2 separate regions of the Homo sapiens genome follow, and region 1 is linked to region 2. The links are contacts of gene promoters, found by promoter capture Hi-C in blood cells and fetal thymus (Javierre and others, 2016). All regions are on one chromosome and are shown on one strand. Each heading gives the region's core, a stretch centred on a gene start or on the middle of the fragment in contact. The rest is flanking DNA. Distances are from core to core; before and after follow the strand shown.

The links. Contacts are between HindIII fragments. The CHiCAGO score rates a contact against its expected background, and 5 or more counts as called.
Region 1: a fragment that was not itself captured here is called in contact with the fragment with the promoter of ERCC2 in region 2 in 1 of 17 cell types (monocytes); the score reaches 6.2 in monocytes.

The regions. Positions count from the first base shown.
Region 1 is chr19:45,568,002-45,575,020 of GRCh38, reverse strand. The region is part of intron 1 of OPA3 (outer mitochondrial membrane lipid metabolism regulator OPA3); the gene reads left to right. Among named protein-coding and RNA genes, the nearest start is that of OPA3, 13 kb to the left of the region's middle. The HindIII fragment of the contact is 3,482 bases long and covers 3,032-6,513 here.
Region 2 is chr19:45,369,323-45,375,980 of GRCh38, reverse strand. ERCC2 (ERCC excision repair 2, TFIIH core complex helicase subunit) reads left to right here and starts at 5,408. Exons shown (of 23, transcript NM_000400.4): 1 at 5,408-5,445; 2 at 5,749-5,848. The coding sequence starts at 5,441. RefSeq lists enhancers at 1-640, 5,115-5,194, 5,813-6,654. The HindIII fragment of the contact is 22,978 bases long and covers 1-6,658 here.

The DNA of each region.
Region 1 (7,019 bases), core at 3,523-6,022, 200 kb before region 2:
TGGCAGGCTCTCATCCAGGTGCAGGTGGAGGTGGCTGGGCTGGAGTCATCTGGAACTGGCACTGGGACTGGGGAGTTGGTTCCCTCTCAGCGTAGCCTCTGGGCCTCTCTTCTCCACGTGGTCTTTCCTGCAGGGTAGCTGAATATCTCACATGGCTGCTCAGGACTCCCCAACAGCCAGATTTTCATGAGGGAAGAAGCAGAAGCTGCAGGTTATTTAAGGGCAAGGCCTGGAATCTTCCAGCGTCATTTCCACCACACTATTGGTCAAAGCAGCTCCAGGCACAGACCACAGTGGGTGTGGGAAAGAACTGCACAGGGTGTGATACGAAGGGGTCCCTGATGGCACAGTCTGCCACAGAGTAGGCACTCTTGGCTTCGGATCTTGGCACTGCTGCTTATTAGCCATGTGACTTTGAGCAGGCAGCTTGACCTCTATGAGCCTCCATTTCCATATTTATCAAATGGGATACTAATAGAACTTATCTCCCAGGATTCTTGTGAGGATGCAGCAGGATAGTGGATAGGCGAGCCCTGGCCCGGGACATGCCCATCTGGTTGCTACTACAGGCTACAGGGGGTATACATGGAATCCGTTTTTTTTTTCTTTTTTTTTTTTTTTTTTGAGACAGAGTCTTGCTCTGTCGCCCAGGCTGGAGTGCAGTGGCACGATTTTGGCTCATTGCAAGCTCCGCCTCCCGGGTTCACGCCATTCTCCTGCCTCTCAGCCTCCCGAGTAGCTGGGACTACAGGCGCCCGCCACCACGCCCAGCTAATATTTTTTGTATTTTTAGTAGAGACGGGGTTTCACCATGTTAGCCAGGATGGTCTCGATCTCCTGACCTCGTGATCCGCCCGCCTCAGCCTCCCAAAGTGCTGGGATTACAGGCGTGAGCCACTGCGCCCAGCCCCCTTTGTTTTTTTTGAGATGGAGTCTAACTTTGTTGCCCAGGCTTTTGCCTTCCTGAGTAGCTGGGATTACAGGCGCCTGCCACCACGCCCAGCTAATTTTTGTATTTTTAGTAGAGACGGGGTTTCACCATGTTGGTCAGGCTGGTCTCCAACTCCTGACCTCAAGTGATCCGCCCGCTGTGGCCTCCCAAAGTGTTGGGATTACAGGCGTGAGCCACCGCACCCAGCCGGAATCCCTTCTTGTCATTACTGCCCAAGTGCCAAAACCTCTGCTTCTAGATAAAGACTTCGTGCACTCAGATCCTTGCCCTGCTGTTTACGTGGTGTGTGTCCTGCATGAGTCCCTCTGCCTTTCTGTACCGAATAGCACTTAACCTCATAGTTCTGATGTTCCCTCAGCACCATTCAGTAAACAGTGTTTACTGTTTACTGTTTGCAGCGCGGCCTCGAACCAGGCTGCCTGCTTATCTGTCCCCGCTCTGCCACTTTCTGTGTGACCCCAGGGAGAGTTATTTAACCTCTCTGGGCCTCAGTTTTATGCTTGTAATTGGGTTGTTATGTGGATATTAAGATCCATAAAACATAGAACTGTACCTGGCCCTCAAGTACTCTGTACATGTTTATTTACTTATTTATTCATTTTATTTGTTTATTTTTTGAGACAGAGTTTCGCTCTTGTTGCCCAGGCCGGAGTGCAGTGGCGTGATCTCAGCTCACCGCAACCTCCACCTCCTGGGTTCAAGTGATTCTCCTGTCTCAGCCTCCCGAGTAGCTGAGATTACAGGCATGTGCCACCATGCCCAGCTAATTTTTTGTATTTTTAGTGAGACGTGTGAATATAAGATGAGATTTGGGTGGGGACACAGCCACACCGTATCACTTGGCCTGGGGGATGGGGACTATGCTGTGGGGGAATTGGGCAGGCAACAGCCTTGTGTAGAACCAGGTCTCTGGCAAGGTACCTGGTGAACTAGAAAAAAACCTCCGTCTGAAGGCACACAAGCTTTGCCCTAGGTAGAGACTGATACATTCTCCTCTGAGAATTTGTAGCCACTGACTGTCCCTCATGTGGGCTTGGGGCCTCTTTGAAAGGTCCTGGAAGTTGCAGGCTGAGAATGAACCCCTAGGGGTACCTAATTGTATCTAAGCACCTGGCAAGGGCAAACATAAACTCTTCCTGCCTGTGCTCTCTCTGCCCAGGCCTTGGAGAAATCCTTCAGATAGAGTTCCAGCACATACAAGCTCACAGTAAAAAAAAAATATATATAGATAGATATATATCGAGATATATATCTATATATATAGTATGATATATATATCTATATATAGTATGATATATATAGATATATATCGAGATATATATCTATATATATAGTATGATATATAGGTATATATTGAGATATATCATATATATAGTATGATATATATAGATATATATCTCATATAGATATATATGATATATATCGATATATATATTTATATACATATATCATGATATATATGATATATATCAATATATATATTTATATACATATATCATGATATATATCCATATATGATATATATATCATATGATATATATATCTCATATCTCATATATGATATATATCTCATATATCTCGATATATATGATTATTATATGATATATGATATATATCATATATTGATATACATATATCATGATATATATCGATATATATCGATAATCTCATATGTTGATATATATGAGATATATATCGATATATATCTCATATATGTCGATATATATGAGATATATATCGATATATATCTCATATATGTCGATATATATGAGATATATATCGATATATATACTATATATATTTTTATTTTTTATTTATATGAGATATATAATCATATATATCGATATATATGAGAGATATATATATATCTCATATATATATCAGACCAACCTGACCAACATGGAGAAACCCCGTCTCTACTAAAAATACAAAATATATATATATATCAATATATATTGATATATATATATACACCACATGAAAAAAGCAGCCACCATGAGCGAGAGCCAGCAGAAAAACATGGCAGGTCACAGCCTGCAAACGTGGAATTATCAGATGTGGATATAAAATACCTAAGCTTATCTGTTAAGAGGATAAAAGAGAAGGATATTAAAACACAAGTAAAATGAAAAATTGCCAGGAAGCTGGAAAAAGAATTAAACAAAACTTCTAGAAAGGACAGCTACAACAGTTGGTGTTCAGCTCTCAATAGAAGGGCTAACTAACCACCAGGTTAAACACAACTGCCAAGAGGATTGGGGAGCTGAAAGGTGCACAATATGGAGGAAAACTAGTGAGCTTTCTGGGGCACTTCCAGTAGATGCCCAGGAGTGCTACCTGCAGGTCCTGATTTGGTGGACGTAGGGAAGGGGTGGACGTGTTTATTTTTAGCAGTCTCTAGAGTACATTCTCACACGCACCAGTGTTTGAAAATCACTTTGCTGGAGTTTATTTATAATCACCAGAGCGTCACATCAGTTATATTATATGGCAGCCAGGCTGCTGCTGGTGACCTCCAAACATTTATTATTATGTTCTCCTATCAAGGAAACACTTCTGAGGTTCCTTCCCTAGCATATATGTATGCACGTGTGTACACATATGTAAAATTATTTAGCAGTCAGCCAGGCACGGTGGCTCATGCCTGTAATCCCAGCACTTTGCGAGTCCAAGGCGGGTGGATCCCCTGAGGCGGGGAGTTCAAGACCAACCTGAACAACATGGAGAAACCCCGTCTCTACTAAAAAAATACAAAAAATTAGCTGGGCATGGTGGCGCATGCCTGTAATCTCAGCTACTTGGGAGACTGAGGCAAGAGTATCGCTTGAACCCGGGAGGTGGAGGTTGCGGTGTGCCAAGATCGCACCATTGCACTCCAGCCTGGGCGACAGAGCAAGACCCTGTCTCAAAAAAATAAAATAAAATAAGTAAATAAATAAATAAATGAAAGTATTTAGCAGTCATGTATAGCGCTAACATATAATAGTATGGTTATATTATATGCATTTAAAAACATACACAAAAATTAGAGGGATGAAACGAACATAAAAATTTTTAAAATAAACTTATTTATTCATGCCCCCCCCCCCCAAATAGTTTTGCTGTCACCGAAAACATTTTCCTATGCAGACATTATTAAGTAAATTTGGAAACTCTTGGTGAAACCCTCTGTGAGAGTCTGGCTTTGAATTTTTTTTTTTTTTTTTGAGACAGAGTCTCACTCTGTCGCCCAGGCTGGAGAGTAGTGGCACAATCTCGGCTCGCTACAACCTCCACCTCCCAGGTTCAAGTGATTATCCTGCCTCAGCCTCCCGAGCAGCTGGGATTACAGGCTTCTGCCACCACACCCGGCTAATTTTGTTTTGTTTTTGTTTTTTTCCCCAAGATGGAGTCTCACTCTGTCGCCCAGGCTGTAGTGCAGTGGTTCAATCTCAGCTCGCTGCAGCCTCCACCTCCCAGGTTCAAGCAATTCTCCTGCCTCAGCCTCCCAAGTAGCTGGGATTACAGGGGTGTGCCATTATGCCCAGCTAATTTTTTTTTGTATTATTATTGGAGATAGGGTTTCACCATATTGGCCAGGCTGGTCTCGAACTCCTGACCTCAGGTGATCTGCCCACCTCAGTCTCCCAAAGTGCTGGGATTACAGGCATGAGCCACCGCTCCCAGCCAGCTTTGACATTCTTTGTATGTGGCTGTCACAGCTGGCAAAGACCTAACTAAGGCACATAGTCTCAGATGGAAGAAGTGTGTCATTGGCTGCGTTTAATCTCGCTGCTCCTTTTTTAGTCCCACCCTTCATTATGCAGAGGCATTTGCTGGAATTTGCTCATGTACTCATGGCTAAATCTTCTGGCCGATTTCTGAACAGGGATCTTTTTCAGAAGCCCCTGTGTAGAGGGCTGGCTGATTTGCAACCTGAGTGCATCCCAGGGAATCTACTTGCGCTGGCTGCAAGCAATATGCCAAGTGGACAGGAGAGGGCGCCCGTGTCAGCCTGGGGATGGCGCCTGCCTGAGAAAGCACCAGAGGCCATCTCGGTCATTGACCCCGGTGTATCTCTGTATTAGTTTGTGCTCATCTGTAATTAATTGAAAACCCAGCCAGTAAATGTCAATCAAACCTTAAATCAAAAGGGTGTTTTTTGCTGGCTTTTCAGTAAGCCCTGAGGAAGGCCTGTTCTTGGTTGGTTTGGTGGCTCAGTGGTGTCATTGGGAACCTGAGGACTCCATCTCTGCTGTGTTGGTGCTCAGGCAGTCCTCATGGCCTCAGTAGGGCTGCTGCGGCTCCAGGCATTGTGCCTTTATGTTTCATAAGGGAGGAAGTCTATGCGTGTGTGTATGGAGGGGCGGGTGGTCAGGTAAGTGAGGGTAACGCTTCAAGGAGGAAAATCCTTTTCCAGAAGCCCCCAGGAAACTCCCCTCACTGCCAGCTTACCACAACCGGGTCACCTCCCACCCCTTGGTGTATGGGAGGTTGCAGTGGTGAGTATCGGCTTCTAAACTCTAATGGAGGTGGGGAGGATGGAATTACTAAGACAGTAGAGAATAATATAAAGTAGCACTGGTAATCAGACGCACTGAAGTTGTTCTGAAATCTTTTTTGTTTATTTTGAGACAGAGTCTTGCTCTGTCGCCCAGGCTGGAGTGCAGTGGCGCGATCTCGGCTCACTACAACCTCTGCCTCCTGGGTTCAAGTGATTCTTCTGCTTCAGCCTCCTGAATAGCTGTGACTACAGGTGCCCGCCACCACGCCCAGCTAATTTTTGTATTTTTAGTAGAGACGGTGTTTCACTATGTTGGCCAGGGAGGTCTTGAACTCCTGACCTCAAGTAATCTGTCTGCCTTGGCCTTCCAAAGTGCTGGGATTACAGGCGTGAGCCACAGCGCTCGGCCCTAGCCTCTCTGTTAATTGCGTCCTCTGAGCCTTAGAAACCCCTGAGTATCCTCTATACCAAGTTGAGTTGGTCTCTCCAGGCCTGGGAGGAGAGTAGAGGTGGGGATCATTTTCTGGGGTGTGGCTATGCTTCAGTCCATTAGGAGGCTGAGTAATTCATTCACTCAACAAATCTTTATTTAGTGCCTGCTGTGTGCCAGGAACTGTTCTAAGAGGCATGACTCAGTAGTCAACAGAACAAAGATCCTTGCTCTCATGGGGCACATTTGAGGGTATTAGTTACCTGCCTAGTGACCCCAGGGCACAGAGGGGTGCCTCATCCCGGATTTCCTGCCAAATTCCCAGGCTGAATCCAGTGGTCCACCCTGCGTCACATCCCCATCCCAGCACCGTCTCTGTGGCCCAGGGAAAGCAGTGCCCTAATTGGCCAGGCTCAGGAGTGGGGTTACCTCCTCCTGAATCCCTTGAACCAAAAGTTGGGGAGATAGGATCCCCCAGGATGCTGGGCAGATGGAACCAGTCATGCCCCTCTGGTAACTGGAGCATTGTGTGTTACTGCAGTCTCGGGTTGCTGTAATGGAAAGATCAAGCCAGGTCTGTGGGAGGAAGCACTGCCTATTGCGGCCTGCACAATTCTGTTAATACTTGGAGCACTGTTAGGGCAAGCTTAAAACTGGCTGGATTGGGCGGGGGCACAGTGGCTCACACCTGTAATCCTAGCAATTTGGGAGGCCGAGGTGGGCGGATCACCTGAGGTCAGGAGTTCGAGACCAGCCTGGCCAACATGGTGAAACCCCATCTCTACTAAAAATACAAAAATTAGCCAGATGTGGTGGGGCATGCCTGTAATCCCAGCTACTCGGGAGGCTGAGGCAGGAGGGTGGCTTGAAACCAGGAGGCAGAGGTTGCAGTGAGCCGAGATTGTGTCACTGCTCTCCAGCCTAGGTGGCAGAGCAAGACTCTGTCTCAAAAAATAAATAAATAACAAAATAAATAAATAAATTGACTGGATTGCCAGGTGGGGTGGCCAACACCCGTAATACCAGCATTTTGGGAGGCTAAAACTGGAGAATCACTTGACCTTTGGAGGCTCAGGTTGTAGTGAGCTGAGATCGTACCAGTGCACTCCAGCTTGTGTGATAGAGTGAGACTGTGTCTCAAAATAACAGTAATA
Region 2 (6,658 bases), core at 4,159-6,658:
CATTCAAATTGTGTATCTTGACAATTTTAGTATTGGCTGATGTAACATGACAATCTAGGAGAGTATTTCCTTGGTATTTAATTCATGTTCTGCTTGGTTTAGCAATTTTATAAACCAGCCTAGGCCTTGCACAGTGGCTCATGCCTGTAATCCCAGCGCTTTGGGAGGCCAAGGCAGGTGGATCACCTGAGGTCAGGAGTTCGAGACCAGCCTGGCCAACATGGTGAAACCCCGTCTCTACTAAAAATAAAAAAATAAAAAAAAAAATAGCCGAGCATGGTGGTGGGTGCCTGTAATCCCAGCTCCTGGGGAGGCTGAGGCAGGAGAATCACTTGAAACCGGGAGGCGGAGGTTGTGGTGAGCCAAGATCGTGCCACTGCAATCCAGCTTGGGCAACAAGAGTGAAAATCCATCTCAAAAATAATAAAATAAAATAAAATAAAATATAAACCAGTCAGTTTCTTCATTAGAGTTCTGGAAATTCTTACCCAGTCCAAACAATATGATCCTAAAATTTATCAGAAACCTATACTCAGGCTGGGTACAGTGGCTCACGCTGGTAATCCCAGCACTTTGGGAGGCCATGGCGGGCAGATCCCTTAAGCCCAGGAGTTCAAGACCAGCCTGGGCAACGTGGCGGAACCATGTCTCTACTAAAAATACAAAAAATTAGCTAGGCACGGTGGTGCACACCTACAGTCCCAGCTACTCAGGAGGCTGAGGTGGCAGGATCACTTAAGCCTGGGAAGTTGAGGCTGCACTGAGCCATGTTCTCACCACTGCACTTCAGCTGGAGCAACAGAAGTGAGACCCTGTCTCAAAAAAAAAAAAAAAAAAAAAAGAGAGAGAAAAGAAACTTTTATGCAACAGTGCTTGTCAGGGTCCTTCCATCCTTTCTCTCTTTCTCCCTTTCTCTCTCTCTCTCTGTCTCTTTCTCTCTTTCTCTCTTTCCTTCTTTCTTCCTTTCTGAGACGGAGTCTGTTGCCCAGGATGGAGAGCAATGGCGCGATCTTGGCTTACTGCAACCTCTACCTCCCAGGTTCAAGCCATTCTCCAGCCTCAGCCTCCCAAGTAGCTGGGACTACAGACATGTGTCACCACGCCCGGCTAATTTTTGTATTTTTAGTAGAGATGAGGTTTCACCATGTTGGCCAGGCTGGTCTCCAACTCCTGACCTCAAGTGATCCGCCCGCCTCGGCCTCACAAAGTGCTGGGATTATAGGCGTGAGCCATCACTCCTGCCATGGAGCTGACTTTTGTTTTTTTCGAGACAGAGTTTCACTCTTGTTGCCCAGGCTGGAGTGCAATGGCGCGATCTCGGCTCAGCGTTAACCTCTGCCTCCCAGGTTCAAGCGATTCTCCTGCTTCAGCCTTCTGAGTAGTTGGGATTACAGGCATGCGACACCACACCCAGCTAATTTTTGCATTTTTAATAGAGATGAGGTTTCACCGTGTTGGTCAGGCTGGTCTGGAACTCCTGACCTCACATGATCCACCTGTTCCAGCCTCCCAAAGTGCTGGGATTACAGGCGTGAGCCCCCGCGCCCAGCCAGGAGCTTTCTAAACAAAATAAATAAGTAAAATATTCAGCATGTCACATGGTTAAATGAGCTCTCAAGAACAATAAAGCAGGGAAAGGGGATATAGTGTGTGTGTGTGTGTGTGTGTGCGTGCGTGCGTGTGTGTGTGTGCGTGCGTGCGTGCGTGTGTGTGTGTGTCTAGGAGGTAGATTTAATTTGGTGGTCAGGAAGCCCTCATTGAGAAGGAGACTTTTTTTTTTTTGAGACAGAGTCTTGCTTTGTCACCCAGGCTGGAGTACAGTGGCATGATCTTGGCTCACTGCAGCCTCTGCCTCCCGGGTTCCAGCAATTCTCCTGCCTCAGCCTCCCGGGTAGCTAGGATTACTGGTATGTGCTACCATGCTTTGCCAATTTTTGTATTTTTAGTAGAGACGGGATTTCACCATCTTGGCCAGGCTGGTCTCGAACTCCTGATCTCAGGTGATCTGCCCACCTCAGCCTCCCAAAGTGGTAGGATTACAGGTGTGAGCCACCATGCCGGGCCGAGAAGTTGACAATTGAGCAAAGAGCTGAGGGAGGTGAGTGTGTCAGCCACATGGCTATCAGGGGAAACAGCATTCCAGGCAGACAAAATAGCTGGTGCAAAGGCCCTGAGATGGGATGTGCTTGTTATGTTTTAGAGACAGCAAGGAGACCAGCATAGCTGAAACAAAATGAGCTGGGGGAGAGAGAGGAGGAGATCAGAGCAGTAAGGTGGGTTGGTATGGGGATGATGAGCAGTAAGCTAGTTACAGAGGACTCTGTAGGTGACAGTAAAGATTTTGGATCTGGGCTGGATGCAGAGGCTCACGCTTGTAATCCCAGTACTTTGGGAGGCTGAGGGAACAGGATGGCTTGAGCCCAATACCAGCCTGGGCAACATAGCGAGACCCTGTCAATAACAAAATATATTTTCTTCCTGTAGGAGATAGAAAAGTAAACATAAAAAAATTTATGTAAATAAATTAAGCCGGGCACAGTGGCTCACGTCTGTAATCCCACCACTTTGGGAGGCTGAGGTGGGAGAATTGCTTGAGCTCAGGAGTTCAACCAGCCTGGACAACATAGTGAGATACCCTCGTCTCTACAAAAAATTAAAAAAAATTAACCAGGCGTGGTGTCGTGTACCCGCAGTCCCAGCTACTCAGGAGGCTGAGGTGGGAGGATCACTTGAGCCCTGGAGGTCAAGGTGGCAATGAGCCAAATTCACACCACCATACTCCAGGCTGGGACAGAGCAAGACTCTGTCTCCAAAAATACAGCCGGGAAGGGTGGCTCACACCTGTAATCCCAGCACTTTGGGAGGCTGAAGTGGGTGGATCTTTTGAGGTCAGGAGTTTGAGGCCAGCCTGGCCAACATAGTGAAACCCCGTTTCTACTAAAAGTATAAAAATTAGCTGGGCAGTAGTGGTGCGCACCTGTAATCCCAGCTACTAGGGAGGCTGAGGCCAGAGAATTGCTTGAGCCTGGGTGGCAGAGGTTGCGGTGCGCTGAGATTGTGCCACTGTACTCCAGTCTGGGCGAAAGAGTGAGACCTTGTCTCAAAAATAAATAAATTAAGAATTAATTAATTTAAAAAAGAGATTTCGATCTGCCCCTGCCTTCCCCTCCAGCTGCCCTTTCTCTGCTCCCTGTGCTCAACTCAGAGCTCCACCCCCACAGGCTTCCTTTCAGCACTCACAGGCCTCAGCTTTCTTCTGGCCTAGAGCTTTTGTGTATGATGGTCTCTCTCCCTGGAACACCTTTCTCACTTCTCTCATCCATCCCCTCTTGCTGGTTGATCTCTTCTAATTATTTTCTGGCTCTACTCAAACCTCGCTTCTTCCACGAAGCCTTCTCTGATCACTTGGCCAACACTCACACCCCACAGTTGACAGTAGACATCCTGTCATAATAAGTCTTTTTTTTTTTTCTTTTTCTGGGACGGAGTCTTGCTCTGTCACGCAGGCTGGAGTGCAGTGGCGTGATCTTGGCTCACTTCTGCCTCCTGGGTTCAAGCAATTCTCCTGCTTTAGCCTCCCGAGTAGATGGGATTACAGATGCATGCCACTATGCCTGGCTTTTTTTTTTTTTTTTTTTTTTTTAGTAGAGATAGGGTTTCACCATGTTGACCAGGCTGGTCTTGAACTCCTGACCTCGTGATCCATCTGCCTTGGCCTCCCAAAGTGCTGGGATTACAGGCATGAGCCACTGCACCCAGCCCATAATCAATCTTTATGGTGACTTGAAGTTTTCCTTCACAGCACTTTTGTACTTGTGATTATACACGTGCGCACACACACACACACACACACACACACACACATTTGAGATAGGTTTTCACTCCTGTTGCCCAGGCTGGAGTGCAGTGGCACAATCACTGCCCATTGCAACCTCTGCCTCCCAGGCCCAGGTGATTCTCCCACCTCAGCCTCCTGAGTATCTGGGACTACAGGTGCACGCCACCACGCCCAGCTAATTTTTGCATTTTTTGTAGAGACGGGTTTTCACCATGTTGCCCAGGCTGGTCTCTAGCTCCTGAGCTCAAGCAATGTACTCGCCTTGGCCTTCCAAAGTGTTGGAACCACAGGCACGAGCCACCACTCCAGGCTGTAATCATATATTCATTTGTATATTTAATATCTGTTCTTTGAGGCCAGGCCTGGTGCCTCACCCCTGTAATCCCAACAATTTGAAAGGCTGAGGGGAGAGGATCACTTGAACCTGCGAGTTTAACCAGCCTGGGCAACGTGGTGAGACCTCGTCTCTAAAAAAATTTAAAAAATAAAACTTAGCTGGGCTTGGTGGTGCACACCTGTGGTCCCAGCTACTCTGGAAGCTGAGGTGGGAGGATCGCTTGAGCCCAAGAGGTGGAGGCTGCAGTGAGCTGTGACTGTGCCACTGCACTCCAGCCTTGGCGACAGAGAAAGACCCTGTCTCAAGGAAAAAAATCTGTTCTTTGAGGGCAGGTGCTGAGGCTGTCATGGTCACCTTTCTGTTCCCAGGGGCCAGCACAGGATCAGACACATGGTAGATGCCACATAGCTATTTGTTGAAGAAACAAACAAAAGCTAGCATTTATGTTTTATTTATTAGTTATTATTATTAATATTTGAAATGGAGTTTCGCTTTTGTTGCCCAGGCTAGAGTGCGACGGCGCCATCTCTGCTCACTGCAACCTCTGCCTCCCAGGTTCAAGCAATTCTCCTGCTTCAGCCTCCCGAGTAGCTGGGATTACAAGCATTTGCCAGCACGCCCGGCTAATTTTGTATCTTTAGTAGAGACAGGTTTTCTCCATGTTGGTCAGGCTGGTCTTGAACTCCCGACCTCAGGTGATCCACCTGCCTCAGCCTCCCAAAGTGCTGGGATTACAGGCTTGAGCCACCGCGCCCGGCCTGCAAAGCCATTTCTAACTCTTGGGCCCAGAAAGGATCACCAATTTCCCTGTCATTCTCCGTTAGACTATTCGCTACTGAGACGATTTTTTTTTTTTTTTGAGACGAGGTGGAGGGGCGGGGGTTCTCGCTATCTTGCTCAAGCTGATCTCGAACTCCTGGGTTCGATCAATACTCAGACAATCTTGGCAGGCGCAGGAGGACCAAATTCTAGTGAATGAGATCGAGTCTCTCGGCTCTTTCCCTTCCATGTTTTCTTTTTGATTGGCCCTCGACGATCCTCAGTGACGCCTCCCGCACCGCCTCACCCGAGAGTCAGCCGCCCTCGCTTTTCCGTGCGCACGCGCAGTATCCCGATTGGCTCTGCCCTAGCGGATTGACGGGCAGGTTAGCCAATGGTCTCGTAATATAGGTGGAGCGAGCCCTCGAGGATGTCCACGACCCGGCCTCTCGCTGAATATTCATGAGGGAGGCGGGTCGACCCCGCTGCACAGTCCGGCCGGCGCCATGAAGTGAGAAGGGGGCTGGGGGTCGCGCTCGCTAGCGGGCGCGGGGGGTCTTGAAGATGGGGTCATCGGTGGGCGCGCCTGGGTCCCCAAGGGGGCGAGGGGAGGGTGAAGGGGTGGGACGGGGGCAGCCGCAGGGAGCAGCAGTGATAGCGAGGAGACACTGAGGGGGCCCCGAGGCTCCTGAGGACCTGAGGGTTACCGGGGGCGCCGGGCCCGTCACCCTTCTCTGGGCTCGACGACCGGGCACTGTGGAGGCGGGAGAGGGGCTGAGGGGACGGGAACTGACCCAGCAGCCCCTGCCGCCAGGCTCAACGTGGACGGGCTCCTGGTCTACTTCCCGTACGACTACATCTACCCCGAGCAGTTCTCCTACATGCGGGAGCTCAAACGCACGCTGGACGCCAAGGTGGGTGGCCGGTGGGCCCGACCCGCCCACTCGACCGGTGGGGCTGCCACGCCTGGGCCTAAGACAGATTGCAGGACGTCTGGATTTTAGAAGTCCGAGGTCCCTGGGAATCCAGGACCCCATAATCTTCCGTTATCTAAAACAATAATGGTGAATAGGCTGGGCGCGGTGGCTCGCGCCTGTAATCCCAGAGCTTTGGGAGGACGAGGCGGGCGGATCACTTGAGGTCAGGAGTTGGAGACCAGCCTGGCCAACACGGTGAAACCCCGTCTGTACTAAAAATACAAAAATTAGCCAGGTGTGGTGGCGGGCGCCTGTAATCCCACCTACTCGGGAGGCTGAGGCAGGAGGATCGCTTGAGGCCAGGAGTTGGAGGCTGCAGTGAGCCATGATTGTGCCACTGCATTCCAGCCTGGGCAATAGTGACACTTGTCTCTTAAAAAAGAAGGGAGAAAAGTTCACTATATATCAGCTACTGTGCCAAATATTTAACCTGCAATTTCTCACAATCCTCATAGTCATGTTATGAGGAAGGTTTTATTATTAGGCCCATTTTATTTTATTTATTTATTTTTGAGATTGAATTACAGGTGCGCGCCACCACATCTGGCTAATTTTTTGTATTTTTAGTAGAGACGGGGTTTCACCTTGTTGGCCCAGCTGGTCTTGAACTTCTGACCTCAGGTGGTTCACCTGCCTCAGCCTCCCAAAGTGCTGGGATTACAGGTGTGAGCCACCACGCCTGGCTTTAGGCTCATTTTAGAGATAGGGATACTGAGGTCTGGGGAGGTGAAGGTACTTGCCTAAGAC